Regions from separate parts of the Homo sapiens genome. Here region 1 is linked to region 2. Evidence: promoter capture Hi-C in human tissues and cell types (Jung and others, 2019). All regions are on one chromosome and are shown on one strand. The core of a region is centred on a gene start or on the middle of the fragment in contact, and the rest is flanking DNA. Distances in the headings are between cores, read along the strand shown. Region 1 holds the start of SPAG9 (sperm associated antigen 9). Region 2 holds the start of MYCBPAP (MYCBP associated protein).

What was found. Contacts are between HindIII fragments. The study calls those that stand out against the background at their distance.
Region 1: a contact is called between the fragment with the promoter of SPAG9 here and the fragment with the promoter of MYCBPAP in region 2, in 1 of the 25 tissues and cell types used here (neural progenitor cells).

What each region holds. Positions count from the first base shown.
Region 1 is chr17:51,119,181-51,122,144 of GRCh38, forward strand. It overlaps SPAG9 (sperm associated antigen 9), which reads right to left and starts at 1,688. Exons shown (of 30, transcript NM_001130528.3): 1 at 1,174-1,688. The coding sequence starts at 1,476. RefSeq lists silencers at 941-1,070, 1,091-1,170, 1,421-1,800 and enhancers at 1,201-1,320, 1,610-2,424, 1,941-2,170, 2,780-2,964. The HindIII fragment of the contact is 17,249 bases long and covers 1-2,964 here.
Region 2 is chr17:50,506,277-50,509,688 of GRCh38, forward strand. It overlaps MYCBPAP (MYCBP associated protein), which reads left to right and starts at 2,163. Exons shown (of 19, transcript NM_032133.6): 1 at 2,163-2,474. The coding sequence starts at 2,399. RefSeq lists a silencer at 1,869-2,158 and enhancers at 2,179-2,238, 2,259-2,388. The HindIII fragment of the contact is 18,604 bases long and covers 1-3,412 here.

The DNA.
Region 1 (2,964 bases), core at 438-2,937, 610 kb after region 2:
TATACGTGACAAAATAAAACAAAAATTTAATGGTGTTACTATTCAGTGTCAGGAAATGAGCTACAAACCTCACATCCTAAAAACTCTTCAAGTCTTTTTGAAAAATACTATGTCATTCCTTCAATAATTAGTTATTTCGCCTCCTTTGATCACCATGTATTTAAGCAGGTGTGCTAGGTGCTTGAGAAACAAAAATAGGACACATCACCTGCCTTTGATAAGGTCCACAGAAATAACGCCAACGCAGGCTGAAAGCTAAACTCCTTGTCAGTCTCAAGAAGCCAAGGACCTATCACTTGCACCCTAGAACTCCAAAAGGTTCACAGAGTCGAGGTGAGGGCGCCCAGGTCACTGCTCGGGTGCTAGAGTTAACAGGTGGCCAAATGCACGTATAAACAGCAGTCTAAGAAGGAAACTCAGACGGAAAAAGTGTTGCCAACTGTCACCTACATCTTCCCAACCCCGCCCCCCAATCCTTTTTATAAATAAACGGAGGGTTTTTGAAGGGAACTGTCCAAGGTTACAACCTGATACGGAGGAATGCTTTGGTTTGGGATACCAACGAAATTGTTTATATATTTATTGAGTACTGCCACACAACATCTAAAAGTTGACAAAGTGTCAACCAAGGCACATAGAACATAAAATAAGACGTCTTTCTCAACAAGATTAAAACGTCAAGAAGAAACTGACCGAAAGAGGGAGATCTCTAACTTCCCAAAGCAAGGCAACCCCCTGGAAAGGTACTGGAACTAGCGGAAGTTACATATCCAGGGCAGAAGTGTCCCCCTCCCCAAGGGTAAAACTTTGAACCGCCATCTGACTATCCCACGGTGGTCGGAAACTTCCCTCAACAAGAAGCAACCAGACACCCAACAATCTCCGCCCTTGGCCAACCCCAGGTGTCCTCAGGCCAGGCTGCCGCTTCCTCCCCGGGCCCTGCCTCCTCCATCTCGCTCCCTTCCCAGGACACTCAGTAGCCGGCCTCGGCTTCCAACGCCGGCCTGGCTCCCGGGGTACCTGGAGGCCGCCGGGATCGGTCCCAGGGGGCATCGGCCTCAGGCCCGCCCTCCAGGAGGCCCGTCGCGCCTCTAGTCCCCGACCGGGCCGCGACCCCGCCCCGGCCGCCCCCGGAGACGGATCCCGCGGCCCCCGCCCTGCCGCCGGCCTCACCTCCTCAGCGTGCTTGCGCAGCGCCTTCTCCCGCTCGTACTGGGTGATGAGCTGCTCGTTGTCGTCCCGCAGCAGCTCCAGCTCCACCTGGTGCTCCTGGTCCTGCGCGAACACCGAGTCCAGGTTCTCCAGCACAGCCACCACCAGCGGCATCAGCTCTTTGACCACCTCCTCGTCATAGCGCCCGATAAGCCGCTCGAACTCGCGGTAGATGGAGCCGGCCAGGCCGGACACCCGCTCCGACATCACGGCCCCGGAGCCGCCGGGCTCCTCCTGATACACCACACCGTCCTCCAGCTCCATGGTGGCAAGCGGACGGGCGGGCGGCCCGGGGCGTCGCCGGCAGAGGGGCGGCACCTGCCCGCACGGGACGGACCCGACTCGGGCTGGGACGGGTACTAGGGCTGGAGCCCGGGCCGGGGCTGGGGCTGGGCCCGGCGGGGTGGGGGCCGGGGCCGGAGGAGGGGAGGGGTGGCGTAGGCGCTCTCACCCCAACCGCCGCTGCACCAACTGCCGGGGCGGCCCGGCCGCGCGCGCCACACGTCATCCGCGGGGCGGGGCCGGCGCCGCGTCGGCCCGATGGGCGGGGCGCCGCGGGAGGCCAGGCGCGGCCGGGGGCGGGGCCAAGCGTCTTCGGGCGCTGGCGGAGGAAGCCATGGCGTCAACACCCGGCGCCGCGAAGACGGTGCGGGCGCCAATGGGAAAGACTGCGGTCGGCGGGTGGGGAGAAGTATCCATCCACAGCGGGATTCGCGGGGCGGGTCCCAGGGGAAAGGGAGGGGTTCGGGAAGAGTGACGAGTTAACTTAGCTGGCATTTCTATGGCTTTTTAAAGCTCACAAAGCACCTACTCACTTCATCCCCACAACAGGCGTAAAGAGGTAGATATTTGGACCTCGTTTCACAGACAAAGAAACTAGGCCCAGGAAAGTGGCGTTGCTCTCAAGGTCACGCAGCTACAACGGGAAACGGGCTGAGCCGGGACTCAAACCAATTACCCAGATTGAGAATTCCGGGCTCCGAAAAAAACTGGAAACAGAAAGGGAGGGAAAAAAAACCATAACCAGGGTCTGCCCAAGTGGAAAGGTGGTCTCGAATAGAATAGAACTGTTTTGTGCTATGGAAGAGCAAGGGTGAGATGAGGGGAAATGGGAGTGACTGCTAATAGGTATGGGATTTCGTTTTGGGATAATAAAAATGTTCTAAAAAATGTATTATAGTGATGAATACACAACTCTAAATATGCTAAAAGACATTCAACTTTACACGTTAAGTGAGTGAATCATATGGCGTGTGAATTATATCTCAAGTTATTAAAAAATAAACAGGAAGGGTGATAGCATTCTGGAGAAGGGTGAAACTGGAACGTTACATGTGGCACTTTCCCACATAGTGTGTCTGCTACTTCTGGCCAACTTGGGACGGGGACATTTCCAGGCTCCAGCCACCCTCCTCTCCTCAAGTCTTGAAGTGGGGCGGAAAGGGTAAGTGGGAGGTTGGGGAACAGAGGAGGTAAGGGGTGGAGTCACTGGAGTGAATAAGTCCCATGACAAGTGAGGTTTCTGCCGCCTGGGAGAGTGTCACGTGTGGGGAATGACACAACGCCCACGCCTAGAGCGGGCTGAGTCAAGGATCCCGGTGTGCTCATCTAACGTCCGCAAATGGGACGGAAGACACTCTCAAAAGTCCCTTCTCTGTGTCTCAGGTGACTCAGCTCTCCGTCCCGACTCGTTTAAGAAAAGGGGGAGGAAAGGCAGGATAAACATAGGTTTAAGGGGAGAATTGGCCACCC
Region 2 (3,412 bases), core at 913-3,412:
GGCCATGGCCCTGGAGCAGGACCCAGCAACGGGCAACACACAGGGAACTCAGGGATTCACCAGCACTGCTGGCATCGTCTCTAGCTCCTCCGCTGTCTGGGGCAGCTCTTGCAAACTCAGAAATGTCCCAGGAGACAGGGTTCAAAGAGCCCTGGCCTTGGACTTTAGAAAACCAGGTTCAATTTGTGCTTCCCGCTAGTCAGGTGACATTACACCCTTCTCTCTGGAGCTCAGTTTCTCCGTTTGTAAAATGGGCTTATAATGTGTCCCCTCCCTTCAACCCCAGCATGATTTTGAGAATTGACTGAGAAGATACTACAGTTTATGGAGGGCACCCTGTTTCGTAGTTTAAATGCACACTCAGGCCAGGTGAGGTGGCTCATGCTTGTAATCCCAACACTTTGAGAGGCCAAGGCGGGAGGATCGCTTAAGCCCACGAGTTCAAGACCAGCCTGAACAACATAGCAAGACCCTGTCTCTACAAAAAATTTAATAATTAGCTGGGTGCAGTGGCACATGCCTGTAGTCCCAGCTACTCGGAAGGCTAAGGCAGCAGGATCATTTAAGCTCAGGAGTTTGAAGCTGCAGTGAGCTATGATTGTGCCACTGCACTCCAACCTGGGCAACAGAGTGAGATACTCGCTAAGAAAAAGAAATACATACATATTCATTTAACCCTGGCAGTGGCCTTGTGAGAGCAGCATTATGACCTCCATTTTATGTATGTATATATGTATGTATGGATGTATGAGATGGGGATCTCACTTTGTTGCCCAGGCTGGAGTACAGTGGTGCAATCAGAGCTCACTGCAGCCTGGACCTCCTGGGCTCAAGCAATCTTCCTGCCTTAGCCTCCAGAGTAGCTAAGACTACAGGTGTGGGCCACCAAAGCCAGCTAATTAAAAAAAAATTTTTTTAGGCTAGGCACGGTGGCTCACGCCTGTAATCCTAGCACTTTGGGAGGCCGAGGCGGGCAGATCACGAGGTCAGGAGTTCGAGACCAGCCTGACCAACTGGTGAAACCCCATCTCTACTAAAAATACAAAACTTAGCCAGGCATGGTGGCACTCGTCTGTAATCCCAGCTACTCAGGAGGCTGAGGCAGGAGAATCGCTTGAACCTGGGAGGCAGAGGTTGCAGTGAGCCGAGATGGCACCACTACACTCCAGCTTGGGCACAGAGCAAGACTCCGTCTCAAAAAAAAAAAAAAAAAAATTTTTTTTTTTTTTTAGAATGGAGTCTCCCTACGTTGCTCAGGTCAATTTTGAACTCCTGGCCTCAACCAATCCTCCTGCCTCAGCCTTCTAAAGCACTAGGATTGTAGGCCTGAACCACTGTGCCCAGCAGAGAAAACCGGCTCTCTAGGTCAAGGCATTGGCTCAAGAACACACAGCTAACAAGCCGACATAGCTGGGATTAGAACCCAATTGTCTGGCTCTAGAACCCCTTCACTATTTGAGGTACAATTTACTGCCTGACTACTAGTGCTAAACTTTGGGTTGGGGGCAGGGCCTGAGGCAGCTCCTGCTCTCATACATTCTGAGAGCCAGTTTGACAATAGGCAACTACACAAAAAACCGAAATAATCCCAGAATGCCTCAGGGCTCCAGGGGAAGGCGAAAAAAGCGGGTGCGTTTATAAACTTAAAATAATCAGAGGCAGCATCTCCAAGGACTGTGAGAATGCCCCAAGTCAGGGCAAAAGTTTTGGCTGGTTTGGGAAGTGATGAAAGGCCAAAGTGGCTGCAGCGAGCGTGGACCCGGGAGGTCTCCAGGCGCGTTGGTGCGAGTTGGGGACGGCAGGCAGGGACACCTAAAACCTACGGTACGCCACGAAGGGGTTTCAGCACGTCCTGAAAGGCCCGATCCCCCCCCAGAACCGCTGTGAGGGGGGCAGAGGGAGGTCCCTCGACAGGATGTGGCCTTAGTCGAGGAAGGCGGGAAGCAGGGGCTGGCACCCCCGACGCCCCACCCGCCCCCCGTGGCCTAGCAGCAGGGCGGGGCGAGGCGGGTCATGCACCCCTACCAGCCAGCCACTCCCACCCAGCCCTCGGCTCCCGCAACTCGCGGGGGTCCTCGCCCGGGTCCCCCGCCCCGCCCCGCCCGGCTGGTGACGTCACGGCGCTCGTCGGCGCCGCCTGTGGCGTCACAGGCCGGGCCCGCAGGGCTTTCTAGGGGTCCGTCGCTCTTGAAGCCGCCGGCGGCGGGCGCGTGCGCGGCCCGATGAAGAAGGAGGTTTCCAAGCCGTCTCCGCCCAAGTTGATCGGTGGATGCGCGCCCCCGCGCGGGGCACCGGTTGCTGTGGACGCAGTGGCGGCCGTTGGCTGGCGGGTGCGGCGCAGCCTCGGTGTCTCTGGGCCGGCGGTGCAGGGCAACGTTTCATGGTGCCGGGCGGCACCATGAAGTCTCTAAAGAAGGATTCCCGCCTCAGAATAACTCCGACCAGATTATTAGAGGCCTCAGAGAATGTCAAAGGTTGGCGCTGGCTGCCTTGGGCGCTCGGGAGAACCCGAGAGGGGAAGCGGTCCCCGGAAAGAGTTCAGGACACGGGGCCTGGAGGATGGGGATGGCACCAGGGATGGAGGAAAGATCACGGGGAAGTGGGGTACTGGGCATAGGACCCTTAGGGATGGGGGGCAAGGCAGGAAGAGCCTACAGCGCACTGGGCCTTGGGGATGGGGACATAGGAAGTGGGAGACTGACAGAGGGGCCTCAGGGACCACTGGCTGGGGAGATGGCCTTGCGCTACCTCTAACCACATCTTAGGGTGGCATGCAGGAGGCAGGATCCCCGGACTGGATGAAGTGCAGAAGAGCCAGGAAAGAGTTTAAGGGTAGAAGGGCCAGGAATTGGGGTCCTTGGGAAGAGGAAAGAATGAAGTGTTGAAACCAGCCACCTTGATGGGATTATTTGGTAGAGGAGGGTCGGGGAGCGGGGCAGGCGTCACTTAGGATTCCTGCTGGAAAAACCCAGAAGAAAGGCCTTGCTTGGCTAGTTCTCTTTTTGACTGCCTTTTCCTACCACGTGCACTTTCCAGCTGGATGACACTTATCCAGCTCCTTTAGCCTGGAAAGAATCGCTAGATATGACTGCTTCCTACCCTCTACAGCTTTCTTCTGGTTGCACCTGGGAGAGCCACAGGGCGTCTGATAGCGGACTGACTTCCATGGACATGTTCTCACTTGCAACCCACCCCCTTTTGATCTTTTTTGGCTGTTTCCATTTATTTATTTTTAAATTTAATTTTTAGCTTTTTTTTTCTGTGTGTGTGTGTGTGTGTGTGTGTGTGTGTGTGTGTGTTTGTAAACAGGGCTCTCGCTGTGTTGCCCCAGCTAGTGTCAAATTCTTGGCCTCAAGCGATCCTCCTGCCTCGGCCTCACAGACTGCTAGGATTCCAGGCATGGACCACTGCG